Regions from separate parts of the Homo sapiens genome. Here all the other regions are linked to region 6. Evidence: promoter capture Hi-C in 16 types of primary human blood cells and fetal thymus (Javierre and others, 2016). All regions are on one chromosome and are shown on one strand. Each heading gives the region's core, a stretch centred on a gene start or on the middle of the fragment in contact. The rest is flanking DNA. Distances are from core to core; before and after follow the strand shown.

The links. Contacts are between HindIII fragments. The CHiCAGO score rates a contact against its expected background, and 5 or more counts as called.
Region 1: a contact is called between a fragment that was not itself captured here and the fragment with the promoter of NRN1 in region 6, in 1 of 17 cell types (naive B cells). The highest score is 8.4, in naive B cells.
Region 2: a contact is called between a fragment that was not itself captured here and the fragment with the promoter of NRN1 in region 6, in 1 of 17 cell types (naive B cells). The highest score is 6.7, in naive B cells.
Region 3: a contact is called between a fragment that was not itself captured here and the fragment with the promoter of NRN1 in region 6, in 2 of 17 cell types (total B cells and naive B cells). The highest score is 14.4, in total B cells.
Region 4: a contact is called between a fragment that was not itself captured here and the fragment with the promoter of NRN1 in region 6, in 1 of 17 cell types (naive B cells). The highest score is 5.7, in naive B cells.
Region 5: the fragment with the promoter of TFAP2A-AS1 here is called in contact with the fragment with the promoter of NRN1 in region 6 in 2 of 17 cell types (total B cells and naive B cells); the score reaches 10.5 in total B cells.

The regions. Positions count from the first base shown.
Region 1 is chr6:10,385,732-10,388,671 of GRCh38, forward strand. No RefSeq gene overlaps it. Among named protein-coding and RNA genes, the nearest start is that of TFAP2A-AS2, 17 kb to the right of the region's middle. The HindIII fragment of the contact is 4,210 bases long and covers 1-2,940 here.
Region 2 is chr6:1,625,918-1,628,798 of GRCh38, forward strand. All of the region lies in intron 9 of GMDS (GDP-mannose 4,6-dehydratase), which reads right to left. Among named protein-coding and RNA genes, the nearest start is that of FOXC1, 17 kb to the left of the region's middle. The HindIII fragment of the contact is 658 bases long and covers 1,223-1,880 here.
Region 3 is chr6:1,603,364-1,606,241 of GRCh38, forward strand. It overlaps FOXCUT (FOXC1 upstream transcript), which reads left to right and starts at 2,168. Exons shown (of 2, transcript NR_125804.1): 1 at 2,168-2,436; 2 at 2,653-2,878. RefSeq lists silencers at 887-1,306, 1,357-1,426 and an enhancer at 2,728-2,878. The HindIII fragment of the contact is 5,314 bases long and covers 1-2,878 here.
Region 4 is chr6:1,375,094-1,378,055 of GRCh38, forward strand. All of the region lies in intron 1 of FOXF2-DT (FOXF2 divergent transcript), which reads right to left. Among named protein-coding and RNA genes, the nearest start is that of FOXF2-DT, 13 kb to the right of the region's middle. The HindIII fragment of the contact is 3,385 bases long and covers 1-2,962 here.
Region 5 is chr6:10,410,610-10,413,825 of GRCh38, forward strand. It overlaps TFAP2A-AS1 (TFAP2A antisense RNA 1), which reads left to right and starts at 1,709. Exons shown (of 3, transcript NR_033910.1): 1 at 1,709-1,758. The region is part of intron 1 of TFAP2A (transcription factor AP-2 alpha); the gene reads right to left. RefSeq lists a silencer at 1,949-2,308. The HindIII fragment of the contact is 20,769 bases long and covers 1-3,216 here.
Region 6 is chr6:6,005,235-6,008,263 of GRCh38, forward strand. It overlaps NRN1 (neuritin 1), which reads right to left and starts at 1,691. Exons shown (of 3, transcript NM_016588.3): 1 at 1,461-1,691. The coding sequence starts at 1,515. The HindIII fragment of the contact is 16,379 bases long and covers 1-3,029 here.

The sequences.
Region 1 (2,940 bases), core at 298-2,797, 4.4 Mb after region 6:
CGCATTAGGGAAACTGAGGTACTGCTGGCATGGCTGTCCATACGTTTGCTAAATCAGCTACTCCAGAGGCCTAGAGAAGGGAGGGAACGCCCTGGGTTTTCCAGAACAAGACACAGATCTCTCCGTAGCCTAAAGAAAGTCCTTGCGCCCCAGGTCTGAAAGCCAAGGGGAGCCTGTGTTTGCTCCCAGCGGGGTCGCCGGCCGTCTCCACAACCCTTGCTTCCTACAGGCAGAATTGAATGCAGGAGCTGGCTGTCTTCCCGCCTGGGGTGGGCTCTCAATTCAACTGGACCTCGGGTCCTGTCAAGGAAAGGAAACCAGGAGGAGGAGGAGGAGGGAGTTCAGGGAGGAGTCCTCTCCCCCAGGGATGGGCTGCCCAGAGTTTGCTGCATTGCATCTCAAATGGCTCAAATTCTTACCTCCCCAGGAGAGAAAGCAGAGGGGGAATGTAAAATTGTAGGCTGCTTTTCAGAATGGCAGCCTCAACTTTAACAAAAAAAAAATGTGTTTGTGTCTCCACCTTCAGACACACAGACATCCACACTAACTGAAAATGAACTGTTGGAATCAATTTCCTCGGAATACTCAACTTTTTTTCTATCATATTTCAGCAATGGACTGAACAGTTATAGCTGGTTGATTCAATTTAGTATTTGCATAACCACGAGAAGAAGGTGGCTTTGCAGACTCAATGAATAGGTCTCTTGTTTGTTGTGTGTGTGTTGTGGGGTTGGATTTTTAAATACATGTGGGGAGGAGGAGGGCATCTCTAGGGCTATGCTGCTGCCCCAGGAGTCAGAAACTGAGAAGCTGCTTCTGGGCTGATGACAGTATTGTTTCCTTACTCCTCCAAGTTCTCTCTCCCTTCCCTCATATCTACCCCTGGAATCCTCTACATTGGAAAATTCACTCATTGGATCTTTCTTTTGTTTGTTCTAGGCAGCTCTGCATGTAAAGACAAACTGCTGTAGTAAACCGTTTGAAATAATTCCGTGGCAAGGAGAGATGGCAATGCTGTTTTACACTTTGCACATAGAAAAAGGGACAAGCAGATTTTCAGGGCAGCCTTCAGAAATAGAGCCAGTTTTAATAGGATCCCAACCCGTGCACTAATTAAATATTTCACAGCTCCCAAAGTTAATGTGTTAACATTGGAACTTTTTTTCCACCAAATCATACAAATTGGCCCTCTGTAACATCATCCTCCCACCCCAACTACTCCCTCCTGTACTCACCCACACACATACGCACTCTGTGCCACAAACTCCTACCAACCGACCTGTTTTCTGAATGGCATTACAAAGAATTTTGTTAAAGAAAAGTCAGACTAATTGCTGCCAGAAGACCCGTCTCTTAGAGAAGTCTGGTTTTCATAAGCCAGATTCAGTAAAGGTTGTGGTTAAATCTAAGCCGAGTAGAAGGTTCTTAAAGTTTTCTCAGCAAAGAGGGAAAAACAAAGAAACAGTAAGTTCAGCCAAAATGCTCAGTAAGGGGAGGAGGGGAGATGATGGGTAGGAGGGAAATTCAAGAGGGCTCTCTCAACTCTTGTTTCTAGATTCCTCTCCTTAGAAGAGCTTTCTTCAAACTTAGTAACACCAATTGAGATGGTTTTCCTAAGTAGCCCAGCATCGCAGTCACAGGCCAGTGACTTGATTCTCTTGAAATGGCACTAATTTCCAAGGGCTGGGAGTTATACTAGAGGGTATAGCAAGGGATTTTCCAGTCCCAGGATTCCCCGAGGCACCTCCCTGTTCAGTTAGCACCAGCCTTCCTTTCAAATCTCCTGATCAAGTTAGTTGCAAAAAGTCCCTGCAGGAACAGGCAGGTGGATTCTCCCCACTTCTAAGCTATGTCACTGAGGAACACAGGCTTTCCCAGAGCGTGTCAGGGACTGCCACTCCAGCCTTCCCTCCCAGCTCTCCCCCTGGCTTTACCTGAGCTAAACTAGCAAGATGCTGCAGAACCTTATAGAGCGCAGAGACGGAAAGCAGTGGTGGAGGTGAGGTTTGGAGAGACCTTCATCTCTTTGAGTGTTTGAAAAGAAAAATCCCTCCAAGAATGGTCTCATTTAATAATGAGGCTGGTTTAATTTTCGAAGTTTCTCATCAGAACTTTAACCTATGGTTTAATAGGTGCAGTCCCATGACTGGTTAGAGATTCCCTATAACTCATTATCTCCTAATAATGGGTCTCCCCCAAGCCCACCTTGTTCTCATGGATCCAAGAAGCTGGAACCATCTGATCATGTCTCATGTTGCAAGAAGAGAAACCCACTCAGTGTCCCAGTCTCTGAACTTCATGGGAATCTCCAAGATCATTCTGACTTGAAGCAACATCCTCAAGGTTAAGACTCAACACGCCCATGCTCCCTGATATTCCATGGAAATAGTTACCCTTTTTGGAACCATTATCTTGGGTGCTTCCATTCAACTGGCTATGGAGTATGGGGGTAGGAAACAGAATATGCAACAACTACATTATATTGAGTATAGTCTCCCCCAGCGGAGGGTTCTCATAGCCCTTGCCATTCTGGTGGTTAGTATTTAACTTATTTTTTCCTTTGAAGATTACTGCTTCCTTCTGAATCCATTGCCCACTCCCACCCTCACCCCCAGGTAACTATAGGGATGTGGAAATGAGGGCTGGAGGAGGTCTTGGTGTTACTGAGTCTTTCTTTTATTCTGTAATTACAAAAAGATCATAATATAAGCAAATGAATAAAAATTTAAAAATCACTCTTTCTCTTGGCAATTCTTGTGGTTGGGGTTTTGAAGGATGTTATCCATCCTTTACTGTTTTATAACCATAATGAAGTGATTTCTCGTTCTTAAGACATGAAGCTACTGAGCTGTGAAATGTACCCCATTTTCCAGTTTTCAGGATGAGTCAGGACAGCCTTTGCTCCAAAGTCCTATCACTTCTCATCCCACAGCCTGAACA
Region 2 (2,881 bases), core at 302-2,801, 4.4 Mb before region 6:
AGCTACATACAAATTAAAGAACAGCCTAAAAGGAGTTTCATCGTGTGAAAGTAACAGCCAGTCAAGCTGCCACTGAAAGCCTTTCCTGCTTATTTTCTTCAGACTTCCCTGAAACTTGGCAGGTGGGGAATTTGTTCTAGATTCATGATGGTCGAGAGGGCAGGGGTGGGACCTGCTTTGCCCTGGGTTTGGAGCTCACCTTCTCTGCTGAGCCTTCTAGAGCAGAGGCTGTCTGGATCCTGCTGAATGTCTGCACCGTGGGCTTGCAATGGGGCTGCAGCAGTACACGCAGCGACTCTCGCTGTCGTTCTCATCATCCATCACTACTTTTTCAAACGCTTTGCATTTCGCAATACACTGAAGTACCAGTTTCCTCCCCAGAGTGTTAATAGTACTAAAACAAGTTATTTCTGCTGGCCCTAAAAGTCCATATACAGATTCTTCAGGAAAAGTAGAATACAAAAAGTAGTAATTAGCAATTTAACATAGCGCTACAAGGAAATAGCAATATAAGCAGAAAAACGAAGTAATTTATTTTTCTTTCCCCTCCCTAAATAAACTTGTATATATTTCTACAGGCTTCTATTTTGCTATAAGCGTCACACAAAGATACTCATTCTTTTTCCCCAGAGGAAGCTGTGCAATGTGGAGTCATGCAGCCCATCCCTCCCCTCTCTCAATCCTATAGCGGCTAGACGGTGTGGAGAAACATGGTTATTGTTTAATCACATCACACTGGCTGTAAATCAACCAGCACGACATAGGATGCATTTCATGGCTGTGAACTCATAGTCAGCAAAACCCTAAAACCCAGTTTGGCTTCAAATAATCTTGGTAGGCTTGGGAAATGGAGCTTTGTATTGTAATTATGTTTCCTGTAGTTTTCTACAAGTAGCTCACAATATAAAAACAACCAGGGAACTACAATTAAGGAAAAAGAAAAATGTTTTTCAAAGGCTTAGAAACAGACCTTGCTACCATACACTGTAAAAGTATTTCATTGAAACCAGAGACGCACCCAGTTAAACTTCTCAATTTAGTTTTGAGCCTAGCTCCAATACTGCAGTCTAGCTGCTTCCTTTAACCTTCTGCCAAGGCTCTGTCTCCCTGAAATTTAATTAGACCAAGAGACCTTGGGAAGAAAAAGGATGAGGTCCCCTCAGAACAAAACATTGGCTCTCTATGCCAGCTGTTCCTAGGCTGACATCTGGACTGGGCAGTAAGCTTATGTTCCAATCAACTTTTAAGGAAAGACTACGAGCATCCCAGCTTGTTTTACACTTAACTGTTCCTGAAGGAATTTCTTACTTCTTCCCATTGTGTCATTTATAGAAAAGATATAGTCAATGGTTCATCCTGCAAGGTTCTAGGCACAGGACATACTTAAAGGGTGGCGTGGGGAGGGCCTGTGTGGGAAAGCGCACACAGCTCTAGAAGGAGAGCAAGGATGTGGATTCCCTTCCTTAAATAAGGCTTCCTCTGGGCTGAGAAGGAATTAGGTGGTGGCAAATGCTCATACAACGGGGTCCAAACTGCTGTGCTCAGATACAGAACTGTGAGGAGTGAGAGGGGAGCGTGGGCCATGATACACGTCCCTTTAATCTTTACCTCCCTCTTAAAGATTTTTGAACTTCCACAAATCCCCTCCAATAGGGTATAATCAGCTCCTAAGGACAAGAGAGAAGAATGAGCTTATCTACTGTGCTCTTTTCTTCTTTTTTGACAGTTCGTTTCCTTCATTATACATATGCTTACAGCCTTAGTATGACAATGGGGGCAAAAGCTGAATTAAAGTGATGATTTTATGTACAGCTTCCCAAAAGGACTTCCACCAGTGCAACTGGGTGGTCTGGAGCTTTTCTTGAAAAAAGAGAAAATAAAGCTTTGAGAAAAATTTAAAGTATTTCTATGTGAATATGACATTTCCTGAACTCTGGCTTCTGGTGTCTTCACTGTTTTCATTGCTATTCCTTAGGTGAACTATACGGTTTCAATATGTAATTTATAATTGTCAAATTCAATTAGGTTTCACTGAGCATTTCACAGCAGCAAAACAGCAGGAGCAATGTCTCCGTCCACACAGCCCTCCAGATTTCTGACTCACGGACTGTGTGTATTCATTTGACCTTCGGGAGTTGTCCTTTAGCTGTACCATCCAGGCATACATTTACAGAGCTGCAAACAGCAGCATGGAGGAGGGCATGTTTGGCTGCAGCCATTTTTTAGGCTTTCCTGGCTTACGTTCTTGTTAAAGTGAACTGATAAAGCGCCAGACCAAATGCTGGAAAAGTCATTAAGCCTGTTTCTGAGCCCACAGTAGTTAACGCAAACTCCAGAAAAGGAGAGACCATAGTGTGCCATTATCTTCTACCCTAACGACAGGTCCCTTTCCTCAGATCTCTCCCATCTAGATAACAACGCAGCTTTAAAATCACACTGGTTAGTTTTCATTCCTTCCCCCGATGTTATTTTGATCCTTCTTTAACACATTTATTGCCTGGGATCCTCCCACCTCCATATCACTTTCTCTAAAACCATTGTGGGGAATGCTATTCAACAGACTGTATCACATAGGATGATTTTTTGAGGTTCACAGTCTCATTTCATTTTCTCCCCTTTTCACTGAGTTTGCTTTGGGAAAACTTTAATATTTAGTTCAAACTAGGTGTTGGATGCCACATTTCCTCAACAGGTCTGCTTATAAGGTTTGCAAAGAACATCTGTTTAGGTGGAGAAATATTCTAAGAGTATGAGATCTTTTGGCAGATTATTGTTAAATTTCTAATGTACATCTTGGAAGAAATTGACTCTTGATGCCCTAAATAGGAGAAGATGTATGGACAGGGATGTTAATAAGGAAAGCCGAGACTGATGAAAGCCT
Region 3 (2,878 bases), core at 67-2,566, 4.4 Mb before region 6:
TCTGTGCATCCTACCAGTCTTTATAATTGTGGTTATGAGTGTCCGTGTTTAAGATTGGAGAAACATGGAATAAATTTGCCTCTCATTAGCGTGCACACTCTGCCCCAAACCCCTTTTTTTGTGGGGGGAGGTGCTGCTCCATCTAGTGAGTGGGGAGATTTTCTAATTCCCACTGGGGTCCTTGTGACCCCAAGCCAAAGCGGACCTTTAGTAAATGTAAATTCTGCATTTCTCTGCTGCCTTCATTTATAGTCAACCCGGTCGGACTAAAAAGAACTACCAGGGCGACCATAACTAAACACTACAGAGCAAGTGCCTCCTTTCCTCGCAGACATTTATTTCTGTGGAAATTCGCCTGTTTGCCATAGTTTGTCTTTTCTTATTTCTTCACTTCCAAACTAAACAGCCCTAATCCGAGCGCATACCTCTCTGTGTGCCAACGTTTCGCCTGTGTCTGTGTCTGCTGCGTATGTAAATACGGGCGAGCCTCTCTGTGGGCAAAGCCATAGGTGTGCATGGTCCTTGTTCCCATAGGCGACATCGGGGTGTGTGATTGCACGTGGGGGTGTGAGGCCTCGCCAGCACCGCCACTCACTGGTCCTGTTCTCGAAACCGGTTCTTTGGAGGCTCAGTTTTTGGTAATTAAGACTAAGGAGTGTTTAAAAAACAGAAGTACATTTTCCTGGAAACCAGCAGTCTTTATTTGCAACTTTTATTGGCAAACCTGGCTGCCAGTAAATACATTCCTTGGCATCTCCCACAATGTAATTCACTGGATGGAGCGGCCTTGCTTTTTCTGTAACGTGTACGTCAATTAAAAGGGCCGCCTGGAAGGAATGCGTAGCGGTGGCTGAAAGCCCCAGTCTCGGGTCACCTCCCTCCACTCCAGGAACAAAAGCGTCCGTGGTCTGTGCCTGGAAGTCTGAGAGGGTCTCCCCGATGGGGCTGTTCCCGCCCGGACCCTGAGGGATGAGAGTTGCAGCCTAGAAAACCAGGTGCCAGGCCCTGCGGGGTCCCACGCGGGCGGCGCGGTCTTCCCCAGGCCTCCTTCTCTGGAGACCCGGTTCCCAGGGGACGCTGTGCGGGGACAGGCGGAGCCGGCCCTTGGAGCCCGGCGCGGGCAGAGGCGCCGCGGAGACAACGCCTCCGACGGCAGGGGGCGCTCGTAGCACGCGCAGTGCGCGGTGCGGGCGCCCAGGACGGCTGCCTGGCCCCGGGTTCCCGAGGCGCGGGACCTGCCGGGGTGAGGTGCCCCCAGCCTGAGAGCCCCAGCCTGGGTCGGCCAAGGGGCCTCCGGGCTTCCACATCGTCCCTTTTTCTGCTGACGCTCGCGGGGAAGCGGCGGGAAGCCTGTGAGGGGCGGCCTGGGAGCAGACGGACCACCAGGTCACCGGCGCGCGCTGCCAGGCGCCGACCCACTCGCGAGGACCAGCGGTTCCCGGAGGCGTCGGCCCTCAGGTCCTCGGGGGAGGCCGGCTGCACCGAGCCGGGTGTCGGCCTTGTCCCTGTCCTGAGAGGTGCAAACACCGGCCCCGGCCCAGGCCCCCGGGGCTCCTGCCCAGAAGGCTCAGAGCTGGGGGCCGACCGCGCCTTACCCGCAGGAGGCCCGGCGGTGCGTCCGCGTTGGTGCCACTCCCCGGCCGGGGTGAGGGACGTCGGAAGGAAGGTCCCAGGGCGCAGGGTTCCGCGAAGGGAGCACTCGGAAGGAAGGCTGGCTGCGGCCCCGGCGCCTGGGTCCGCTGCGGCGCCGGGCCGGAGACCTGGGAACAGCCAGCCACCTGCAAGGTTGCAGCCCACCTCACCCCGCCGGCGGCTCCGGGGCTGTCTGTGGGTCTGTCTCACGGGGCAAAGCCTTTCTTCCCACACCCACAGCCAAGGCGCGTCCGTGCAGGGGCACACGCCTTCTGCTCCAGCCCCAGGAAGGCGCTTTCGCCCTGCAGTCCTCCGACGGCCGGCTCCCGCCGCACCGCGCACCCTGGCTCCGGCAGACTCTGGGGCCTGGGGACTCGCCCACCCTGCGCGGCGCGCCCCCCACATGAGCCGAGGTTGGGAGGCTGCGGGGCCTCTGTCCTCCCAGGCCGTGGAGTGCGGCGGCCGCTCTGAGTCCGCTGGGGACCTGGATGGAGAGAAACTGGGGCTCGTTCGCGCACACATGCACCATTTGTTCTTTCCGATCATCTATCCCTTTACGAATTTTATTTTTATTCCGGATTGTTAATGCAAGACGACAGTTTGAATCTCCATTTACCTCTGCCTGAACACAAGAAGCCCTGAGTCTTTTGAAGCCGGGCACCAAAGTTAAAGATTCACTTCCCGCATTCCCCATGGCCCCCTCTTGCAGCTTAGCTCGGCTCTGAGCCCCCGAAACGCCCTTCGAGGCGGGGGCTTTCCTGCCAAGGGGCGATAGGTGGGCCATCCCGAGGCGGGAACGATCAGGTAGGTGTTGGCTGGCTTTCTCCTGGGTGAGTAGTTAGGGGAACCGCCCCTCCAGGGGACTTAGATGACATTAAATTATCCCATCACACAAACTTCCCGTGGAGGTCTGCCCCCAGGAGGGCAACTATCGGATTAATCCAACCATGTAGACAGGCAATATGGATCACTTTGTCTTTAAAACAATCGAAAACCAAACGCTCTTTTCGTTTATTGTAGAAATTTTTCTACTAAGGACGGGGCTGAATTGGAGGGACTGTGCTGACAAATCCTCTACTTGAAAATCCCCCAGCTAAGGAGTATCTGCCCAAGGTCGCGGCCACCCAGATGTTCGGTCCCCACTCCTTCCTCCGCTGAAAAGTCGCACCGATGACTAACGTTGCCTGCCGGCCTGGTGGTTTGAAAACGAATGCCGGGCATTGATGCAAGGATATCCTCCCCTACC
Region 4 (2,962 bases), core at 118-2,617, 4.6 Mb before region 6:
AGCCTCTCTCTCATTGCCTTTACTAACAATCCCAGGGAAACACTCTATGTGACAGAGGGTGACCCTGTGCCTAGACTTGGCCAAGTACTGTGGCCAGAGGACAGGTAGAATAGACATGCATAGGTCACATGACTCTCTACGTCTAGGGTGTCATAGCAGTGTGGCTACACTAGGACAACACTGAATGGGAGAAACAGAGTTCTCTCTAAGGATACGAAGATGCTCTCACCAGTAGAAAGAAGAAATGTCAGGCAAACCAAAGAACCAAACATCTGCAAAATTCTCCAGATGTAGCAAGATATTTACATTCATATCCTATCTTCCAGCATACTGCCCTCTTTCCAAATTCCCCATGATTAATGACAATGTCAAACTGCATTGGCCTTAGGGTTGACTTTCAATCTTCCATGACTCCACTTTTCTCAGTTCCAAAGAGCAAGGGTGACTTCTACCTCTTCCTCTTTAAAAGATTAATAGGAGATTTGCCAAGTTGTTTATGTTTTCTAGAAAAAACAGTGAATAGCAAGTAAACGCTGTGCAGGTTATCACATAAAAAGAAAAATAAATTTAGAATCTTTAAAAATAAATTAAATTCTCAAAGTAATATTTAAAACTTTAAAAACTAGTTAATATTTATGATATTTTGTTACATAAGAAAAATAGGCTAAGGAAAGATGGGGAAAGAATCCTACTTTTGTAATGTGATTATATTTATATAAAGAAAAACAAAAAATAAATCATGGCTTCATGATGACTCTCATGGACCAAGGCACTTATGCCTTCATGGGTCACTTCATCCCCAAAATATTAAAAATCGCATATTTTTGAAGGTGTTACTATAAAGACAAATATATTAATCTTACTTAAAAAAAAAAAGAAGTCATTTAAATGGCAGTCTTGAAGGTAACTTGAATGATGCATATGAACTCCTTGGCATTATTTGAGTAACCTTATTTCCTCTATTTTCATCAATTGAAATTCCACTTTTAACTCAAGGTATAAAAGTGAATTGCGCTATGTCATTGTGCTAGGAGAGTTTTAAAAAATTAGAAAAGTGAATGAAAACTTGAAGAAAAAGTGCAAATAATAAAGGCCAGAAGAAATGTTTTCAAGTGGTGTTATGACACTGCCAGCTCCAATTCTCACTTTGTAGAGACATCCAAAGTCTAGACATCAATCAGTTTTGGCCTCAAAATAATATCCTAGTTAGAAAGGGTTCAGGAATACATTATAATGAATTTGAGACACCCAAAATTGCTTATTATTTTTCCATTGCTATGAAATTACACATTCTGGTGTTAGCAAATAAAAACAAAATGAAACAAACAAAAAGAATAAATTTATTCTCCAGTCATGCTTACCTACTCTATACAGCTATATTCTTTCCCTTTTTATTAAATTCCTATTGCCATAAAATGCTTAACTCAACTGCATATTTTTTGTAACTGATTTACAAATGGAAAGGTTTCCTGTCTTGGATCTCTTCTGAGAGCCCTCCAACTGCAGAAAAGTTTTCCATAGGTAGAAACCACAAAACAAAAGAAGTTTATTAAATTCCTTTTTAGCCGAGCTCAGTAAGGCAGATTCCCTCAGGCCAATGCCAACATACGCCCTTCCACCTACACCAAGCATCTTACCAGAGATGGGTGATGGATGCATAAACCTTCTTTCCAGATGGAAAATTCTCCTAAAGAGAATCTGCCACTCCTTGCCTCTTTCGCTTGTCCCTTTCTCTGCCACCAGCACAGACTGTCATTCTGTCCCCTCACTCAGACAGGCACGGCTACCCACAGGTTCTACAGAGTCCCCTGCCTCCCTCAGCCTCCATCCCCAAATCCTGTCTGCCCAACTGGCCTGCTTAGCTTTCCACACCCATTTTGTTCCAAAACATGGGTTTCTGGAGGTTTTGTTTATATTTTCGGGTCCCCAAACAGCCTTCCCTTTCAAGGGAGAAAAAAAACTTTAGGAGCCCCCCTCCCCTTCTGCTGAATGAAAAGCTGACATATGGTAACCGCTCACAGCTTCTCAGGTGCTTGACATATTTTATAATAGGTCTAGAGACTTGAAGACTAAATAGGTGAATATCTGGCTCATCAAGCAAGTCAGTCTTTTTTATTTTTTTATTTATATTTATTTATTTGTTTATTTTTCGAGACGGAGTCTCTCTCTGTTGCCCAGGCTGGAGTGCAGTGGTGGCATCTCGGATCACCACAACCTCCGCCTCCCGGATTCAAGCGATTCTCCTGCCTCAGCCTCACGAGTAGCTGGGATTACAGGCGCGCGCCACCATGCTGGCTAATTTTTGTGTTTTTAGTAGAGACGGGGTTTCACTGTGTTGCCAGGCTGCTCTCGAACCCCTGACCTCGTGATCCGCCCGCCTCGGCCTCCCAAAGTGCCGGGATTACAGGCGTGAGCCACCGCGCCCGACGGGTCTGTCTTTTTTAAAGCCAAAAACTAGTCACCGCTGCAACACTGTTAGGATGCTGCTGCTGAAGGCCCCACCGGCATTCTCCCTCGCTAACGAAGAACCAACAAGGACCAAACGAAGGGGACATTTGCTTCTCCCAAAAATAGATTACCCATCCAACTGAGAAAATTAAAGGTTGACTCTAGTCTGTGTCCATGTTGATAGGGAAAGTTACTGCGGTACTAAGGTACCGTAGAAGAGACGGCCTAGTTGGACGTAAAAACACTTTGGCCACCAGCCTGGAGGTAAAACCCAAGCTACAAAAGCCAGTAATTAAAAGAAGAGTGAAAATGATCTGAGATAAAAGCTATTTTGTGCGGATCGTTTTAAGAGTTAAGAGTTTATGTGAATGGTTTATTTAAATGGCTATAAAACTGCAAAGGTGTTTATATATGTAAAATATGCATATTGGAGGAAGTCGGCCGGCAGCTTCACCCTCCTGCGGGAAAATGCAAAGTCCATCACCAATAGTCGGTCTACCGCAGAGAAGTCTGC
Region 5 (3,216 bases), core at 459-2,958, 4.4 Mb after region 6:
AGCCCATTAAACTGCAGCGTGAAATCTCTCTTAAGCAAAATTAAAATTCCTCCTAAATACTAAACAGCAGAAGCGGCCTTTTCTTTTCCCCCGATTTGAACCTGTCTGCCACTGCGTTATTGTTTATTCTCTTCCATTTATTTGGAGAGAAAAAAATCATAAACGTTCAAAGACTGTTACCGTTTCATGACTACTTAAATAGAAACATATTTCGCAGAGGGGCTGTAACAAAAACACACGTTTAAATTACCAGCTTAAAGAAGGTTTTAACTGCAGGATCGGGGTCTGTCTTTTTCGCTTCCTCTGTTAGGAGCCTTTTTCTCGACAGAGTCGATTTATGGTTTGGATAGGGAAAGGGGGACGTCAAGTCAAGGTTTAAAATAGAAAGATTCAGCCTTATTGGGTTTAAAAGAGAGAGGTGCACCCCGGGGCTGTGGCCCCCCCCCCCCGCCCCTTCCACCCCAGCCCCAAAGGGCAGAAGAAACGCCTGACTTTAGGTTTCTCTATTGCAATTCCCTTGCAAAACAAGCGAAGAGAGTTGATTCCAGAGACCGCGAACCCTCGGCGGTTCGGCCGCAGGTCCCGAGGGTAGGGGGCACACCGCGCTGCACTTTTCCTGCAGACAGTTTAAGCATCAAATGTTGAGAACATCTCGGGGACAAGTGAAGACTCAAGGAAATCAAGATGAACGTGGGGAGAAACACGCCTTGGGAAGCCGCGGCGAGGTAGGTCTGCGTGCTCGGAGAGGTCGAGCGGGGGCTGGGGTAGGGGGTAATGCACTCGATTTAGGGATGGAAAAGAGCGAGAGAAAGGCGGAAGGTGGGGTGGGGGATGCAAATGGAGAGGGTGTCCTGAAGGAAAGCTGGGCGTGAAACCCGAGGTTTCGGGCAGCTCCACGGCACCAGGTTTCCAGAATCCAATTCCTAAAGAAACAGCAACGGGGGTGGGGATGGGACTCACCATGGCTGAAAAACTGTGAACTAACATCTGCGAAGAGTCTGGGGTAACGAGTCAGGGTGGAAAAAAACAAGCAAGCCTGGAGCGCCCGGCTGCCCCGCCGCCCGAGCGCGCCCCACACAAAAGGCGCCGAGAGCCCCGCGCCACCCAGGACTCCAGTCACGGCGCCGACGCTCCCCGGAGCGCGGGAGCCCGGCTCGGATCCATCCGAACTTGAACCACCGATTCGCGCGGCGCCTTCAGCTGGTCGAACCCACGGTCTCTATCCTGCCGCGACTGGTTATGATTCAAAGTTCTTTAAAAATGAAAAACCCCAAAAAAGGAAAAAGGAAAAAGTATGTGTGAGTGTGTGGGTGCGTGCGTGTTCCTTAATCCGTGTCTCCCCCTCTTTTCTTAGCGGCGGCTTCGCTTGAGCTTCTAATAACCGCGCTGGGCAGCGTTCCTGGAGCCTCCTAATAGCAGATATTCATGACTATTAATATTACACGAATACTTAATAAGGGAAGAATGCCTGGAAATCGAGCGTGAAGCGGAGAGGCAACTCGCGCCGGAGCCGGCTCTCAATGCAGTCCATTGACGGGAGTCTCAGTGTAGCAAATCGGAGTGGGGAGAGGGAGCGCGAGAGACAAAAAGCGAGCGAGAGAGGGAGCGGGCGAGCGCGCGGGGGGCCGCGGCGCGGCGTCTGGCGAATCACAGGGAAGGGGCAACATTTTAAAAGGTTGCAGGGCATGCAAAAGTGAAAGAGAAAGAGGCAGAGAGGGAGACCGAAGGAGAGAGCGCAGAGAGGGAGAATGTGTCTGCGTGCGTGTGTGAGAAAGAAAGTGTGGGCGAGGGAGAGGAGCCCCGGGTGGGGAGAGGGGAGGGAGGGAAGGAGGGAGAGCCCGAGAGGAGGAAGGGAGGGAAAGAGGGAGGGAGGAAGGGAGGGAGGGAGGGGGAGGGGGCCCAGCCGGAGCGCACGGAGGGGGAGGCCGCGGGGGAGGGGGAAGGGGAGAGGAAGCGAGCGAGGACAATCAGACCTAAAAGGCTGGGGCAGACCTCGGGATGCAGCGGGGGTCGTGCGTAGCGGGTAGGAGCTGCTTGGGACCGCGTCCGGGCGCTCGTGGGGCTCTCGGCGCGGCAGGCGCTTCCCGGCCCTGTCTGGCCGCGGGCTCCGCCGCTTCGCAGCCGAGTCTGGGACTCGGGACTCGGCTGCCCGCTGCTGCGCGGCTCCTCCATGACCCGGCGCCCTGCCCGGGACCGGCCCGCTCGCTGCACTGGTCCTCTCCTCGGCCTCCTCTTGAGCTTTCCTCGGACAGGGGCACCGTGCGCTCCCCGGCCACCGTCGCTCTGCCCTCGGCTCTCTGGGGCCGGGGATTCCGGATCGGGAGCCGGGATGCGGGCCGGGGCGCGCACAGACGCTAGGCGGCCCAGCCCGGGCGCCGCTGGCACCGGCTCGCGGCTCCCGGCAAAAACCCGTCCGACTGGCTGGGCCACTCCCGCCTGACGCCCCCCCAGATGACACGACTAGCTCTCCCGGCGTGCTGCCTTTGCCAGTCTACCCGCCAGGTTGTCAGAACAAGCGGCACCTCGCCTCCTGCGTGTCCCTACAGAGCCCCGGCACAATCAGACTGCCCCAAGCCAGCTCCGAAACCCGAAATCCCCGCTCCGGCGCTTGCCCACCACGGCCAAAGTTGTGGAAACAGCTTTGACTTTATTCTCCTCTCTCTCTCATCTTTTTTTGCCTCGCTTACACACGCATTCACACTTGCCCCCACAGGATCCCTCTAGGGGTGCAAGTTCATCCCCCACCTAGCCACCCACCCCATCCAGTCGGCACCTAGAGCCGCACGGAGGTTCGGACCCCGCCCGCCGAGGGCGCCCACACCTGGAGCTGGGTTTCGGCCTCTGCGAAAGTGAAATGCCCAAGCCTCCGGCCAAAGCCCAGACCAGTACAGTATGAATTGTCCTATGAGACTGAGGGGTTCGGCTTCATTCCTACCTGCCCGCAAAGCTCGCCCCCAGCCTCGAAAACAAAGCGACTGGTCTGACGTGGGGTCCCTGCGCCCCTCCTCTAGCGCGACAGGACCCCCCCAGGGAAGAGCCAGTACCCGTGGGATGTCACCCCGTCCCCATCTACCGGGGTGGGGGGCCTGAAAGGAGAACGATTTAAAATAATCTTCAGAAAGAAAAGGGAGGAGGGAGCGGGTGACACATCGTTCACATAAACCCAATTTCTGGTTTCGAGTGAAGTCAAGATCTCCGCCCCTGCGCCTGCACACA
Region 6 (3,029 bases), core at 441-2,940:
GCTCTCTAAAAATTCAAAGGTTTATTGCAAAATGCCACATTCACTTATTTCCAACATTTAAGGAATTTGCTGCCATTAGAAATATTATTTACAGCAGCTCTTTTCACTAATGTCAAAGATTCAAAACAACCAGATTTAAAGCATTGTCATTTTTTGGAACTAAAGGAAAACACCAATATCCTGCACTCACACACTCTAAAATCTTTATAATGTTTCTGCATTATAAAATCTCAAAATCATGTCAGTTGCATAAAACCCCACTGCAAAGAATCCATTTTAAGGTCTAGAGAACTCCAAACCTTGTTTCCTTCACATTTCTTATGGAAAAAACATATTATGCATTCTCCTTTCTTGCCCCAAACCAATTACCTAAAGCACCCCCTCCCCCAATACTGCAAGGATTTGTCTGCAAAGAATGCCACAGCCTGAACTGATAGGAGGTAACAATTCCGTTTCAGGAGTTTCTTTTTTCCCCCGTGTTGTCCATTCTATTAATAACCTGCTTCACTTTCACTTTTAGGCCACGTTAATTAATGTTCTGACCCAGTGTCGGAGAAGGGGGTTTTCTAGTGCCCTCTTCTATATCTTTTCTTCATTCTGGATGGTAAAAATGTGAACTTTAAAAAGACCCCTGACAGCGTAACTACAACTCAACATTCCTTAACATAAAATGGGGACTAAATAATTCCTTCCATAACCAATCCCAAACAAACAAAAATAACAAACACCCGACATGACATATTCCAAACACTTCTTAACCCTTTCCTATATATAAAATGCAGACACCAATGTGTAAAGTAGCAGGCAAATGCATCTAGAAAAGTATATCTACGTAAATTTGGCTGAATTCATCCTCTTCAATGGTAAGCATGTTAAAATATGTGGTCTGAAGTTCCCTATCACTCTCGATTTGCCCACCAGCCGGGTCTGCGGTGCCCGTGCAAACGCTGCAGCTAGGATATAGGGGGGAGGAGGGGCGGGAGAATGACAAAGTTCTAAATGCAGCAGTCTGAGCCCTGGAATATCTTTGCTTTCAGCACATAAACTTTCCAGTCCTGGCTGCCTAGCCATTTTATTCCTGCATTCACATTTCGACTCTTCAAAATCATATCTTGCAGTATCGCAGGGGCCAGTACATTGCCCCAGAGCGCACCAAACCTGGTATAAACCCAGAAAGGGAAACAAAAATGGATGTGTGCTCAGGAAAAAGGGGGAAAAAAACCGTGTCCAGAAAATGTCCGGCCGCACACATTTCCTGGCGAACATTTGGAATCTATAGCTTTAGGAAAAACCGATCTGGGACGCGCTAGTCCCCAGGAACTGATGCCCCCACCCTCGGGGGATTGCCGGCTTCTCCGCACCCTGGGGCGGCCGCGGACCCGCTAGTCCCCCTCCGCGCCTCGGGCCGGGGCAGGCTGCCTCCCGCCTCCAGCCTCCAGCCGGGCTGAGCGGCCACTTACCTATTTGCACCGCGAGGATCAGTGAAATATATCTGCCGTTCAACTTAAGTCCCATCCTACGTTTAGTCAAACCATTTGCGACCGCAGACCTTTAAATAGTTAGTTTAGAGAACGCGGGGGAAAGCCAAAAAATAGGCATTGCCAACAAGTTCCGGGAGCGACAGAGACTTTATGCACTGGGAAGGCAGAGGGAGGAGAGAAAGAGAGGGAGCGAGGAAGAGACAGAAAGAGAGAGAGAGAGAGAAAGAGAGAGAGAGAGAGAGGCTGAGGGGGGGGGGAGAGCTGGGAATGGTTCACTCCATTAGAAGGGGGCGGAGGAAGTACAGCCTCACGCCCACGAGCAGGCCTGACGTGGGGGATGACACGGAATGATTTTTTTTTTAATATAGACACCTTGGTAGAGAATCGCCATTTATAGTCATCAGAAGCTGGAATTAATCAGATATCTCCAATTAATGTGCGATCTGAACGAAATTTTGCCTCCCGGGGGTGAGCACTTTCCTATTCTAGCGGTCACCCCTGCCTCTTCCTCGTTCCGGGGGCCCCCCAGCCCCGCCGCCTCCCTGCGCAGAACAGGGGCTCCCCCTCCCTTCCCCGCCAGGAGCTGGGGAGTCCTGGCGCGCCCACTCGATTGTTTCAACCTGCTCCCCCTCCTCCATCAGCACCACAGAGAATCCAGCCCGCTCTCTACGATGCAGGGGGGTTTAAAGGAGCGGGAGAGGGAAAAACAGCTAAGCTAGCTCGATTAATTCGAAAGCGCTCCTCGGCCGCCCGCCCCCTGCGCTTGCCTACCCTCTTTTTCTCCAACCCAGCAGCTGAGCTCTGGGCGCAGCCTGGAGCGCGTGAGCACGCAGCCCGGCCCCCCGCACGAGCACACACACACACACACACACACACACACACAAACGCGCGCGCGCACGCCCGCCAGCCGCGCCGAGCGCCCCCATGCCCGCCCGCACACAAGGCACGCGAGCGCGCGCACACGCCCAGGCCCCGGGGGTTTGGTTTGCACACGTGGGGCCCCAGAAATAAACACCGAATGTCCTCTGAATTTTACCCACCTGCGATGCCCCAGCGGGCCAAAGGCCGCTTCAAGGGACACAGCGACACCTGTTTTAGGGGGCGAGTAGGGCACCGGGGAAGGAGCCTCTGATAAGACAGTTTTCGGATACTAGTGATTTACCAACCAACTCTCAGCGCTTTAGGAAATTTCCAAGGCAAGCGCTGGTGTGCGGACTTCTTTCTAATCTTGATGCGCCTCTTGGGCTTATTTGTTGGGCTACACACACACGTACCCACACGCACACACGTACATCACGTACGCACACGCACACCCGGACCCACACACACCTGCACTGTCTTTTGATGCTCAGGCACAGACCCTGTGTAGGTGTAGCCTACCCTGCAACAAAATACTTCTGCAGCTGGCTTTGTGCTAGGTGCAAGCTGCTATCGACGACAGCTTGAGTCAAAACCGAAAAACTAACAGGGCTATTTCCTTTCTAAACGCCTTTAAGCTCTGGTTTTCTTCCTTTCTTCTGCACCAAACAGAAAAAAAAAAAGTCTAAA